3 separate regions of the Homo sapiens genome follow, and regions 1 and 2 are each linked to region 3. Evidence: promoter capture Hi-C in 16 types of primary human blood cells and fetal thymus (Javierre and others, 2016). All regions are on one chromosome and are shown on one strand. The core of a region is centred on a gene start or on the middle of the fragment in contact, and the rest is flanking DNA. Distances in the headings are between cores, read along the strand shown. Region 1 has its middle 23 kb from the start of LINC02178. Region 2 holds the start of NOD2 (nucleotide binding oligomerization domain containing 2). Region 3 holds the start of NKD1 (NKD inhibitor of Wnt signaling pathway 1).

Evidence for each region. Contacts are between HindIII fragments. The CHiCAGO score rates a contact against its expected background, and 5 or more counts as called.
Region 1: a fragment that was not itself captured here is called in contact with the fragment with the promoter of NKD1 in region 3 in 4 of 17 cell types (non-activated CD4 T cells, total CD4 T cells, naive CD4 T cells and 1 more); the score reaches 7.7 in non-activated CD4 T cells.
Region 2: the fragment with the promoter of NOD2 here is called in contact with the fragment with the promoter of NKD1 in region 3 in 6 of 17 cell types (non-activated CD4 T cells, monocytes, naive CD8 T cells and 3 more); the score reaches 6.4 in non-activated CD4 T cells.

The regions. Positions count from the first base shown.
Region 1 is chr16:50,415,588-50,419,774 of GRCh38, forward strand. No RefSeq gene overlaps it. Among named protein-coding and RNA genes, the nearest start is that of LINC02178, 23 kb to the left of the region's middle. The HindIII fragment of the contact is 7,581 bases long and covers 1-4,187 here.
Region 2 is chr16:50,691,596-50,695,684 of GRCh38, forward strand. It overlaps NOD2 (nucleotide binding oligomerization domain containing 2), which reads left to right and starts at 2,011. Exons shown (of 12, transcript NM_001370466.1): 1 at 2,011-2,067. RefSeq lists a silencer at 1,731-2,240 and enhancers at 2,611-2,660, 2,901-2,980. The HindIII fragment of the contact is 14,983 bases long and covers 1-4,089 here.
Region 3 is chr16:50,545,517-50,549,972 of GRCh38, forward strand. NKD1 (NKD inhibitor of Wnt signaling pathway 1) reads left to right here and starts at 2,880. Exons shown (of 10, transcript NM_033119.5): 1 at 2,880-3,062; 2 at 3,201-3,233; 3 at 3,906-4,039. The coding sequence starts at 3,038. RefSeq lists silencers at 2,523-2,972, 3,013-3,202. The HindIII fragment of the contact is 5,196 bases long and covers 2,473-4,456 here.

The DNA of each region.
Region 1 (4,187 bases), core at 883-3,382, 130 kb before region 3:
CTTTGATTACTGTAGCTACAGGAAGTTATAAAATCAGAAAGAGTAAATCCTCCACCTTTGTTCTTTTTCAAGATCGTTTTGACTACTTGGGATCCCTTAAAATTCACATGAATTTAGTATAGGCTTTTTTTTTTCTGTTTCTGAAAAAAAAAAAACAAAAAACTACCATTGGGATTTTGATAGATTCAACACCATTGAATCCATACATTGTTTCGGGTAGTGTTGTCAATTTAACAATATTAAGTCTTCCAATCCATGAACACAGGATATATTTCCATTTACTTAGATGATCTTTATTCTTTCAGCAATATTTTGCAGTTTTCAGTGTATAAGTCTCTCACTTCCTTGGTTAAATTTATTTCTAAGTGTTTTATTATTTTAGATGCTGTTGTCAATGGACTTTTTAAATTAATTTCCTTTTTGAGTTGTTCATTGCTAGTGTGTAAGAAACACAACTGATTTTTGTGTCTTGATTTTATATCCTACAAGTTTACTGAATTTTTTTATTAGCTTAACTGTGTGTGTGCGTATGTGTGTGTGTGTGTTCTTCTTTAGGGTTTTCTACATAAAAGAGCATATCATCTGTGAATAAACGAATTTTATTTCTTCCTTTCCAATATGGATGCTTTTTAATTCTATTTCTTGTCTAAATGCTCTGGATAGAACTTCTATTACTATGTTGCACAGAAATGATAAAAGCAGGCATTCTTGTTTTTTTCTGTTCTAAGGGGAAAAGATTTCAGTCTTTCATCATTGAATATGATATCAGCTGTAGATTTTTCAAATATAGCCTCTATCATGTTGAGGAAGTTCTACTCTATTCTTAGCTTATTTAGTTGTTGATTAGCTTATTTATTATGAAAGGATATTGGATTCTGCAAACATTTTTCCTGCATCAATTGAGACGATGATAATTTTTCCTTCATTCTATTAATGTTATGTATTACATTGATAGATTTTCTTATGTTGAACCATCCTTGCATTCCAGAGATAAATCCCACTTAATTGTGACGTATAATCCTTTTACTATGTTGCTGAATTCGGTTTCCTAGTATTTTGTTGAGAATTTTAGCACCTGTATTCATAAGAGATATTGGTCTGTAGTTTTCCTTTCTTATACCCTTTTTGCCCAATTTTGGTATCAGAGTTAATACTGGCCTTATAAGTTATAAGATGTTCCCTCCTCTTCAGTATATTGGAAGAATCTGAGACAGATTGATATTAATTCTTCTTTAAATATTTGGTAGAATTCACTAGTAAAGCCATCTGGTCCTGAGCTTTTCTTTGTTGGGAGGTTTTGATTGCTAGTTCAATCTCCTTACTTGTTATAGGTCTATCCAGATTTTCTATTTTTCCTTGTGTCAGTTTTGGTAGTTTATGTGTTTCTAGGATTTGTCTATTTCATCTAGAGTATCCAATTTGCTGGCATACAGTTGTTGATAGTATTTTCTTAGAATCCCTTTTATTTCCATAAAATTGGTAGTAATGTCCTCATTTTCATTTTTAATTTTAGTTATTTGTGTCTTTCCTCTTTTTTTTGTTAGTCAGTATAGGTAAAGGTTTATCCATTTTGTTGATCTTTCAAAGAACCATCATTGAATAGTGTTAAGAGTGAAAGAAAAGAAAAAAAACCCAGAACTAAAGAACTAATGTTTTGTTTAGTTGATATTTCTCTATAGCTTTTCTATTCTTTCCGTAGTGTGTGTGTGTGTGTGTGTGCATGCATGTGTGTGTGTGTGTGTGTGTGTCTGTGTGTTCTGTCTTCAGTCTAATCTTTATTATTTCCTTCCTTCTGTTAGCTTAGGTCTAGTTTTTTCTTCTCATTCTAGTTTTTTAAGGTATACAATTGGGTTATTGATTTGAGATCTTTCTTTTTAAAAAATGTATGCATTTACAGCTATAGGTTTCCCTCATAGCACTGCTTTCACTATATTCCATACATTTGGTTGGCTGTGTTATCATTTTCATTTTTGAAAAAATATTTTCTAATTTTCTTTGTGGTTTATTCTTTGCTCCATTGCTTATTTAAGATTTGTTGTTTAATTTTCACATATTTGTGAATTTTCCTGTTTTCCTTTTACTATTAATTTCTAGTTTTATTCCATTGTAGTTGCAAAATATACTTTGTATAATTTCAACTAAAAATTTTTCATAAGACTGTTTTGTACCCTAACATATGGTCTATCATGGATAATGTTCCATGTGTACCTAGAAGAATGTGTATTTTGATGCTGTTGGGTAGAATGTTCTGTATATGTCTTTTAGGTCTAATTGGTTTATAGTGTTATTTATATCTTCTGCTTTCTTACTGATGTTCTATCTTATTGTTGTTTATTATTAAAAGTGAGGTATTGAAGGTTCCAATTATTGTAGTACTGTCTATTTCTCTGTTCAATTCTTTTTTTTTTTTTTAAATTTTTCTGCTTTCCCATGCTTCCTAGAGATATTTGTCTCTTCAGTTCTGTCAAGTTTTGCTTCATCTATCTTAGGTCTCTGTTGTTAGGTTTATATAGGTTTACAATTGTTATATATTCTTGCCCAATTAAACCTTTTATCAATATATACTCACCTTTTATGTCTTTTGTTGAGCTTTTTTCACTAAAAGGTTGTTTTGTCTGACAATAATATAGCCACCTGGCTATCTTTTGGTTACTATTTGCATAGAATACCTTTCTCTATCCTTCTAATTTCAATCTCTTTGTATTGTTATATCTAAAGTGAGTCTTATGTAAACAGCATTTAGATGGATCATGTTTCTCTTTTATTCAGTCTGCTAAGCTCTGCCTTTTAATAGGAGAGTAATTTACATTTAATGTGATTACTGATAAAGGGGGGTTTACTTCTACCATTTTGCTTTTTTTTTCTATATGTATTATATATTTTTTGTTCCTCTATTTCTCCCTTACTGCTTTTTTTGGTATTTAGTCGATTTTTTTTAGTGTACCATTTTGGTTCCTTTCTTTCCTTTTCTGTGAATTTTAATTTTATTTTCTTAATAGCTACTTTGGGAGATTACAGTTAACATCTTAAACTTATAACAACCTAGTTTGCAAAAGTACCAATGTAGTTTCAAAGGTGTATACATACTCTACTCCTATACATCTCTGTTCTTCTTTCTTTGTTTTGTAATTGTCACAAATCACATTTTTACACGTGTGTTCATTAACATAGACTTATAATTGTTTTATGCATTTGCCTTTTATATCACATAGAAAAAAAAGAGAAGTTACAAACCCAAAGAACAATAATACTGACTTTATATTTACCTATGTAGTTGCCTTTACCAGTGTTCTTTATTTCTTCTTATGGCTTTGAGTTAATAGCTAGTGTCCTTTTGTTTCAGACTGAAGGACTTATTTTGGTAATTCTTGTAGGGAAGATCCACTGGTAATGAACTTCCTCAGGTTTTGTTTATATGGAAATGTCTTAATTTTCCCTTCATTCATTCATTCTTCTTTTTTTTTTTTAGACAGAATCTCACTCTGTTGCCCAGGCTGGAGTGCAGTGGCATGATCTCATCTCACTGCAACCTTCACCTCCTGGGTTCAAGTGCTTCTTGTGCCTCAGCCTCCAGAGTGGCTGTGATTACAGGTGTGCACAACCACACCCAAGTAATTTTTGTATTTTTTAGTAGAGATGGGGTTTCACCATGTTGGCCAGGCTGAAAGATAGTTTTGCTGGATACAGAACTCTTGGTTGACAGTTTCTTTCAGCATGTTAAATATCATCCCACTGCCTTCTGGCCTCCATAATTTCTGATGAGAAATCAGCTATTAATCTTATTGAAGATCTCTTATATGTGACCCAAATAGCTTTTCCCTTGCTGTTTTCAAAGTTCTCTTTGCCTTTGTGTTTCAGTAGTTTGGTTGTAATGTGTCTTGATGTGGATATTTTGAGTTTAACCTACTTGGGGTTTATTGAGCTTGTTGGATATGTATATGGATGCATTTCATCACATTTGAGAAAAATTTGGCCACTCTTTCTTTGAATGTTTTTTTCTGCCACCTTTTCTCTCTATTCTCCTACCTGGATTACTGTGGTTTGTATGCTGGTATTGTTGATGGTGTTCCACAGCTCCCTCAGTTTCTGTTCATTTTTCTTTCTTTCTGTATTTTTCTTTCCACTCTTCAGAACGGGTATTAATTTTCTCAGGCTGCTATAACAGAATAGAATACCATAGTGTGGGT
Region 2 (4,089 bases), core at 761-3,260, 150 kb after region 3:
AGAATGAATTTTCTAGGGTAGATTCAGTCCTTCTAATGCAGCATTTTCCAACCTTGGCTGACTGTGCACCACCTGCACAGGTATTTACTTGAAAGCGGTATGGGGTAGTGGTTAGAGCATTCATCTGTGCCAGAGGCCTGGGGCAAATCCCCATCTCTGGTGCCAGAGGAAAGGGGGCATCTCGAGGCTGGGGAGGCCCCTGGCAGGAGTGAGAAGTCCTGAGGAGCCCGGGCTTCAGGTCTCAGAGGGGGCCACTGTTTTTTGAGTACCTTCCTCTCTGTGGGACTCAGTTTCCCCATCTTCACCATGCCAGTGAGTGGGTGGGTGTAAGTGAGCGAGTCTGCCTGGAGGATCCTACTGCTGCTCTCTGCACCTCTTAGGGGAATCTCCTGCCTCCTCCTTCTCCCTTGGTGGGCGTGAGATCAAAGTTCAAATGTGTACCTCAGTTTCTGCATCTATAAGTTAGAGGCAATAATAGTCAATACCCTAGAGGTGGAAGTAACTGAGTTACTGTCTGTAAAGACTAGCACATGGTAAACACTTTCTAGATGCCAGTTATTTTCGTTATTTTTAAAAATTGACTTCACATTTTTTAAAACAACCAAATATGAGTTTCAAAAGGAACATTTACATTAACATGTTAAATGGAAAACCGGTGTCATTTGCTCCGGAGAACAGAAGAATGTAAAATAAAATATATTTAATGGAAACAAAAACAATGCTATTAAAGCTAATTAGATAGTTTCAGAGCCAAGTAATCTAGGCAGTGCTAGAAAGGTACTCAAACCCTATTAGTACTAAACTGAGAAATAAACTCCATTCAACATAAACGGAAAAACTGAAAGGAAAATGAAAAAAAAGAACCTTAAATGACCAGTCCACTCTTACCTAACATGTAACCTGTCACACTCTGGAAAAGTTTTCCTAGTTTTGGCTGTGTGTGCGTGTGTGTGTGTGTGTGTGTTGGGAAGTGAGGCGTGTGTTGGGAAGCGATGTGTGTGTTGGGAAGCGATGTGTGTGTGTTGGGAAGTGGGGTGTGTGTATATTGGGAAGCATGTTTGTGTGTGTTGGGAAGCGGTGTGTGTGTTGGGAAGTGGTGTGTGTGGGGTGTGGTGTGTGTGTGTTGGGAAGTGGTGTGTGTGTGGGGTGTGTGTATGTGCACGTGTGTGTTGGGAAGCAGTGTGTGTGGGGTGTGTGTGTGTTGGGAAAGCAGGGAGTGTAGTGTGTGTTTGTGTTGGAAAGTGGTGTGTGTGTGGGGTGTGTGTGTGTGTGCACGTGTGTGTTGGGAAGCGGTGTGTGTGGGGTGTATGTGTTGGGAAAGCAGGGTGTGTGTGTGTTGGGAAGTGGTGTGTGTGTGAGTGTTGGGAAGCAGGGTGTGTGTGTTGGAAGTAGGGGGTGTATGTGTATCGGGAAGCATGTTTGTGGTGGGGGGAAGCAGGGCGTGTGTGTGTGTGTATGTGAGTGTTGGGAAGCAAGGTATGTGTGTTGGGGGAAGCGAGGGCTGTGTGTGTATTGGGAAGCATGTTTGTGTGTGGGGGGAAGCGAGGGCTGTGTGTGTGTATTGGGAAACATGTTTGCGTGTGGGGGGGAAGCAGGGCGTGTGTGTGTGTTGCGAAGCGGTGTGTGTGTGGTGTGTGTGTGTGCGCGTGTGTGCTGGGAAGCGGTGTGTGTGGTGTGTGGTGTGTGTGTGTGTGTATGTGTATGTGTTGGGAAGCGGGTTGTTCCGAGGACTCCCCGATTCCCTCCTGGTTGAAACGTGGCCCAGAAAGAGAGGCACACTGGCTAGGGCACACAGCCAGGGCCGTCCAGCCCCGCAGGAAGCCCCGGTCCTGCCCTGTCCCAGGTAAGCCTGGCCAGCCCTGGAGCCGGCGCTGCGGGGCTGCGGGGCTGCGGGGCTGCGGGGCCACGGGACAGGAGCGGGTGCTGCGGTCCCGGCAGAGCAGGGGCGGGGTCCGGGCGGGGGCGGAGCCGAGCGCCCGCGCACCCGGAGCCGCAGCCCGAGCCGGAGCCGGAGCCGGGAGTCGTGGCCCGGAGTGGGCCTTGGAGTCGGCGCGCAGGCGGCTCGCGGTGAGTGCTGTGCCCAGCGCCTGGGGGTGGGCTGGGGGGAGACTGTGGGCGCCGAGGGTCCCACCCCCGGGACTTGAACACTTGGCTTCTGAGCCGTCCTGGCCGCAGGGCTTGGGCAAGGGTTGCCTCGGTTTCTCCTGGGGGAGTCCCAGAATGTAGATGGGAAGTGAGACGGAAAGGGGGCATCTCGAGGTTGGGGAGGCCCCTGGGCCACTCTTTTGATTTCCTTCCTCTCTGTGGGACTCAGTTTCCCCAGCTTCACCATGCCAGTGAGTGGGTGGGTATAAGTGAGAGAGTCTGCCTGGAGGATCCTGCTGCTGCTCTCTGTACCTCTTATGGGAATCTCCTGCCTCCTCCTTCTCCCTTGTTGGGTGTGAGATCTAAGTTCAAATCCATCCCTTCCCAGACAGCCCACACCAGGACCTGCGAGGCCACATCCCCCAGCTGTTTGCTCTCCTATGCTTCTCAGGTTGATGGAGCAGCCATCTGGTCCTGCTTTCATTCCAACAAACTGAAAAGCCCTCCACCCCAATCCCCCTGGGGAGGACCTCCTGAAGCTGCATGAGGGCTGGGGGCTGGACCCCTGCTTCTGAGTTTGCTCTTTCTGAGCCTCTCCTGCCATGGCCTTGGTTTCCCCATGGGCTGTGACCTAGCCTCCTCCAGGGTCCTTGTTCTACAGAGGGGAAACACCTGCCCTGTCACCCTCCCCTGACCCCTTAGTGAAAAAGACCAGAGTGACATCCCCACCACCTGTACTTGCCTGTCCCGATCACTCAGCCATGGGGCTGCTGGGGCCCCTGAGTTTGTTGGCTGCTCAAGGCCCCTTTGCCTCGCTGCACCCTGGGATCTGAGGCTGGAAGCATCCTCATCCAGCCCACCTCCCTCCTACCCAGTGCAGAGCCCCTCTGTGACACATGCCCAGTGGTGGGGAGCTTATTACTGATGAGGTGGCTTTTTAGTGCCTTGCAGCTCTTGTTTCCTTTAGCTAAAATCTGTGGCTTACAGATTCTACACCTTGGTTCCATGTCTGTCTCCCGGAGCCATGCAGAGCAAGTCAGTTCTTTCATTCTTTCCAGCAGTCATCATTCATGCACTGGATGAGACACGAGACAGAGCAGTAGGAAAATCAGACAAAACCCCCTGCCCTCATGGAGTGCACACTCTAGAAAGGAATGGACAGCAATGAAATAAGTAAATACATGGCGTAGCAGGTGGCGGGAAGTACTACGAGTAAAACAAAGCTGGGAAGCAGGATGGGGTGCTGGGGCTGGGTATTGCATTGTATATAGCACAACCAGGGAAGGCTTCCCCAAGACCACGATAGCTGGGCAAAGTCATAAGGAATTGAGGGGTGAGCCACATGAGTATCTGGGGGGCTGGGAGGCTTTGGTTTTCACTCTGAGCATGATGGGAGCACGGGTTTGGAACAGAGGAGTCACCTGCTTTGACTTGGGGTCTGGCAGGCCCATCTAGCTGTGGGGTGGAGAATGGATCATGGGGGGGGTGGGGTAAGGGCAGAAGGAGAGCCCGTTGAGCGGATCATTGCTGTCATTCTCGGGAGAGACCATGGTGTCTTGCCCATGGCCCAGAGGTGGTTAAAAAAAAGAAAACCAGACATTCAGATTTGGGATATATTTCAAAGGCCGTGTCGATAGGGTTTGGGGTGCAAGAGAAAGGTAGAGTCAAAGATGATTCTGAGTGTTTGGCTCGAGCTTCTGGAGGTTTGAAGCTGCCATGAACTGAAATGGGAGTTGCTTAGCGGAGAGATCAAGAGTTTGGTTTTGTGCTTGTGGAGTTTGAGCTGCCCATTAGGCATCAATGATGAGTAAGCAGTTGGGAAAAGTTAAGGGCGGAGGTTGGAGTTGAAAATAAAACTTTGGGCATCATCACCATATAACTGGTATTTAAAGCCACAAGAGCAGGTGGGCTCATCTAGGGATGGAGTGATATGGAGAAGAGAAGGGGTCTAACCATTGAGTGCTGGGGCCCCCAGTGTTAGGAACCAGCCAAGAAGACAGAAAG
Region 3 (4,456 bases), core at 1,630-4,129:
GGAAGAGGGGATACTTTTTTCTCATGGAAGAAGAAAGCCAGGACCGGTTTAAGAAAGTAACCAACTTTCTAAGCACTGTGAGAAAGGATGCTCCAAGTTTTGCTTTGATTTAGAGGCACCCTGGTACCAGCAGGGAGGGGTGAGAAAGGCAAACAGGAATTCCAGACGAATTCCATTGCCTTTTGAGGGGTCTGAAAGAGGGTGCCCACTCCGACTCAGATGCTCAAACCCCTGCCTCCCTCCTACACCTGACCCCCGCCGTTCTGCCCCACTTTTTCATGTTCCTACAGCTCAGGGGTTCTTACTTCAGCATTACCCACATTTGATGCTGGATCATTTGTTCTGGTAGGGTGGGGGGGCTGCCTTATGCATTGTGGTATGTGTAGCAGCAACCCTGGCCTCTACCCACTAGATACCTCCAGGCATTACCAAGTGTCCCCTAGAGGGCAAAATTGTTTGCTGTCAGGTCCTTATGGGATGGAAAGAAAGAAAAATGGCCTGTTACCCCTGGTGTAACTTACTACACTGTTTACTAATTCATCATTTATTGTTTCTTGCCTATCTTCCCCCTAGGTGAGTGGGAGTTCGATGAGAGTGGCAGTTGTCTATTTTGTTCACCGATGTATCTTAGGTGACTAAAACAATGGTTGTCACATGGCTGGCCCTTCATATTTGTTTCCAGATGGAAGACTCTCTTTCTAGTGGTGGAACATTAGTTTTGCACTGTGTTGGGACAACCTGATGTAGTGAAAACAAGCCTGGGCAATGAAATCAACAGATTGGAGTTCAGTTCCTAATTGGGTCATGGATGAACTTTGTGACCTTGGGCAAGTGAGTTCACCTCTCTGAGTTGAATAGGTTCCCTCCTTTCTAGAACAAGTATGAGTCTGCATCAGAGAGTGGTTGCGAGGGCTACACATGATGGAGGATGAGGACTGGCACATCAGAAGTACTGAATGAAGAATTGTAACATAAAAATGACAACAGTAATATATTTTTGTGGTTTCAGCACTCTTCAAATGAAACCACCTGGCCAACAGGATTTTAGTGTACCTGCTTATAACATTAGCCTTCGTTTCCACCAAAAAGGGTGTTAAAAAAGGAAGCTTGGAACATGAAAGTAAGACACTTGGATGAAGAGATTTATGACTCTGGGGGGCTGTGAATTCCTAATGTCCTTTTGAGACATGTAGATCTTCCAGAGCGATGCTGCCCAATGCAGTAGCCACTAGCCAAGTGCAAATGGTCACTTGCAATATGGCTAGTCTTTGAGATGTGTTTTAAGTGTAAAATACACACTGAATTTTAAAGACTTAGCGCAATACAAAGAATGTAAAATATCTCATTATATCTTGAAATTATACTATTTTGGATATATGGTGTTCCCTTGGTGTCTTTGGGGACTGGTTCCAGGATCCTAGAGGATACCCAAATCCCCAGATGTCAAGTCCGCTATATAAAATGTCCTGTAGTATTTGCATATAACCTACACACATCCTTCTGAATACTTTAAATCATCTCTAGATTCCTTGTAATTCCTAATACAATGTAAATGTTATGTAAATAGTTGTTATACTATATTAAAAAGTTTTTTATTCTTTATTTTTGCTGTATTATTCTTTTTGCATATTTTCAGTCCACAGATGGTTGATGCCACAGATGTGGAACCTGTGAATAAGGAGGGCTGACTGTATTGAGTTAAGCGAAATATATTATTAATATTTCATCTATTTCTTTTTACTTCTAAAAGATGTGGCGACAAGAAAATTTAAAATTACAAATGTGGCCCACATTATATTTCTATTGGGCAGTGCTGCTCTAGAGAGTCGGCAAAAAGGGCAGAATGGAGCCTCCATTATACAGATCACAAAACTGAGCACAGGTAATTCACTCCAAAGGTCGGGGCTGGTCTCACTCTGAGCTGCGGGTTTTCTTTTCCCACGCCAGAGCTGCCTGGTGCCAGGACGAGCGTAACACGGACCCACAGTGTCCCCAGAAGGGGGCAGGCGTTCTGAGAGCCACAAAGGTGGGGTGGAATCCCTTGATGTCGACCGCCACCATCCCCCTCCCCCCGCGCGACCTCCCCGCAGAGACCTCCCCAGACAAAACAAACAAACCCTTGGGTCTGGCGAACTGCAGCGGGGAGCGGAAACCAAGGAAGATCAAAGACTCAGCGGTTACCCCCTTCCGGGCCGCGCAGTTTGGCAGCGCGCCCCGACCCGGGCGGGCACCCACGGGCCCCCGGACGAGGAGATCCCAGAGACTGGCTGATAACGGGGCGCTTTGGACATTTGTCGCTGCCTGGAGAGGGCTGGGCTCACACTGGCCCGGGGTGCGCTGGGGGCTCCTCCTGGACTCCCCAAATAAGAAACTAGAGGAGTGCGGTGGTGGGGGGCGGGTCACGGGGCGGGTAATGAACACTTTCTGCAGAAGGTAGGTCGTGGGAAGACTGGGAAAAGGCAGCGCTGCCGAAGCTTGCACCTGAGCAGCTAAGGTCTCCGCTCCCGACCTCAGTTTCCCCACCTGTAAATTGGAGCCGCCGAGTCCCGCCCTGCCCGTTTAGAGAGAACGTGGAGCGGAGGGAAGTGACAGTACAGTTAGCGATGGCCGGGCTGTTCTGTCCCAATACGCCTCCTGGACAAGCCGCCCCGCCGGGTCGCCAGCCCTGGAGCTCGGCCCCCGGCCCCAGACCGCGGCAGGGAGCGCGGACTGTGTCCCGCCCCTCCCGTCAGCGCCCCGCCCTCGTCCCCGCCCTGCCCCGCCTCCGGCCCCGCCCCCGCCGCAACCAGCCTTGCCTTTGATGCGCCGCACCGGCCAATGGGCGCGCGGGGAGGCGCGGGCCGCGGCGGCGGGCTGGGGGCTCGGCGCTCCCGGGCGTCAGTCGGGCCGCGGCGACGGCGGCAGGAGCGCGTCCCGGCGCCGCCTCGGGCTCCGCTCGGCTCGGGGGCTGCTTCGGGAGGAGGAGAGCCAAGGGAGGCGCCAGGCCCGCGGGCCGGGCGCATGGCTTAGGGACGCTCCCGGCCGCCGCAGCCCCAGCATGGGGAAACTTCACTCCAAGCCGGGTCAGTGCCCCCGCCCGCGCGCTCGCCCCGGGCCCCGCCGCCGTCGCCGCCGCGGTCGCTAACTCTCTCCCTTCCTTTCTTTCCTTCTCCCGCCGCCGCGGCTGCCGCCGCCGCCGCCGCCTCGCGATGTGCCTGCAGCCGCCGTGTGCAAGCGCAGGGAGAGCCCGGAAGGTAGGGGCGCGCGGGGCGCAGACCTCGGGGATGGACGCGGGGGACACCGCGGCCGCGGCAGAACGGCCCAGCCCGCCAGGTCTTATGACCAGGGCCACCCCGAAGCCCCAGTTCCGGCCACCGGCCCCCCAAGCCCGCTCCCTGAGCAGCCTTCGCGCCCCCTCCTCTGTCCCTCCTACCCGCTCCCCGCGGTCCTGCGCTCCCACCGCTGACCCTCAACCCCTCCCCCTCCCGCGTCCCTGCCCTCGGCTCTCACGGCACCCTCTCTTCAGACCCCCAAGCGCCTCCCCGCAAGACCCTGCCCCCTCTTCCTGCCCCCCGGCCCTTCTTCCGATATCCTGGCTCCTGCACCTACTGCGGCCCCTCTCCTGACCCCCAGCCCTCTCCTCCGCAGTCCTGGCTGCCAGTGCTCCCTGGTCTGATCCTAAACCCGTCCTCCTGGGGTACTGCTCACCCCTCTTGCCCCCTTCTGGCTCCTCGCTCCTAGGGCTTCGCTGAACCCCCCTTTACTTACCCGCGTCCCTCTCTTGGCTCCTGCCCCAGCCCGCGAACCCCCTCCTGGCCCCCGTGCCGTGGTCCTTCGCCTCCCACCGCGCCTCCTTCTTCCCTCCGCGGGGGTAACTTTTGGCACCTGGAGCCAGACTCAGGGGCTTCATGTCGTCCCCGTCCCAGGTGACAGCTTCGCCGTGAGCGCTGCCTGGGCTCGGAAGGGCATCGAGGAGTGGATCGGGAGACAGCGCTGCCCGGGCGGTGTCTCGGGACCCCGACAGCTGCGGTTGGCGGGCACCATAGGCCGAAGCACCCGGGTATGATTCCCCACCCCTGCCCCACCTCCTGGCCTCCTTTCAGCCTCAGAGATGGGTCCCCAAACCCATGCACCCCAACTTTGAGCACTTTCCTGCACAGCTTCTGGGTCTGAAAATCTCTTCTCAGCTGCCCCCTGCCCCACCAACGCGACCCTCTGCCCGCATGCCTTGGAGAACCTCGAAGTGCCCAGCTGGAGGCAGAGGGCTGCCTGGGGGAAAGGTCCTAGGTGGGGAGGTGGTGAAGGTCCAGTTGATGGGGAATCGTGTCTGTACCGGCGGGATTTGGGGGCCTGCTCTGACTTCTACCTTGTTTCTGCCACCAGCATTCAAAGGTGGAGGTGGAGTAGGGGCTAGAGAGAAGGGGGTATTAGGGGTGTCTGGGTGGAAGGCAGAGCTGTGCTGGCCCCAGGATCTGAA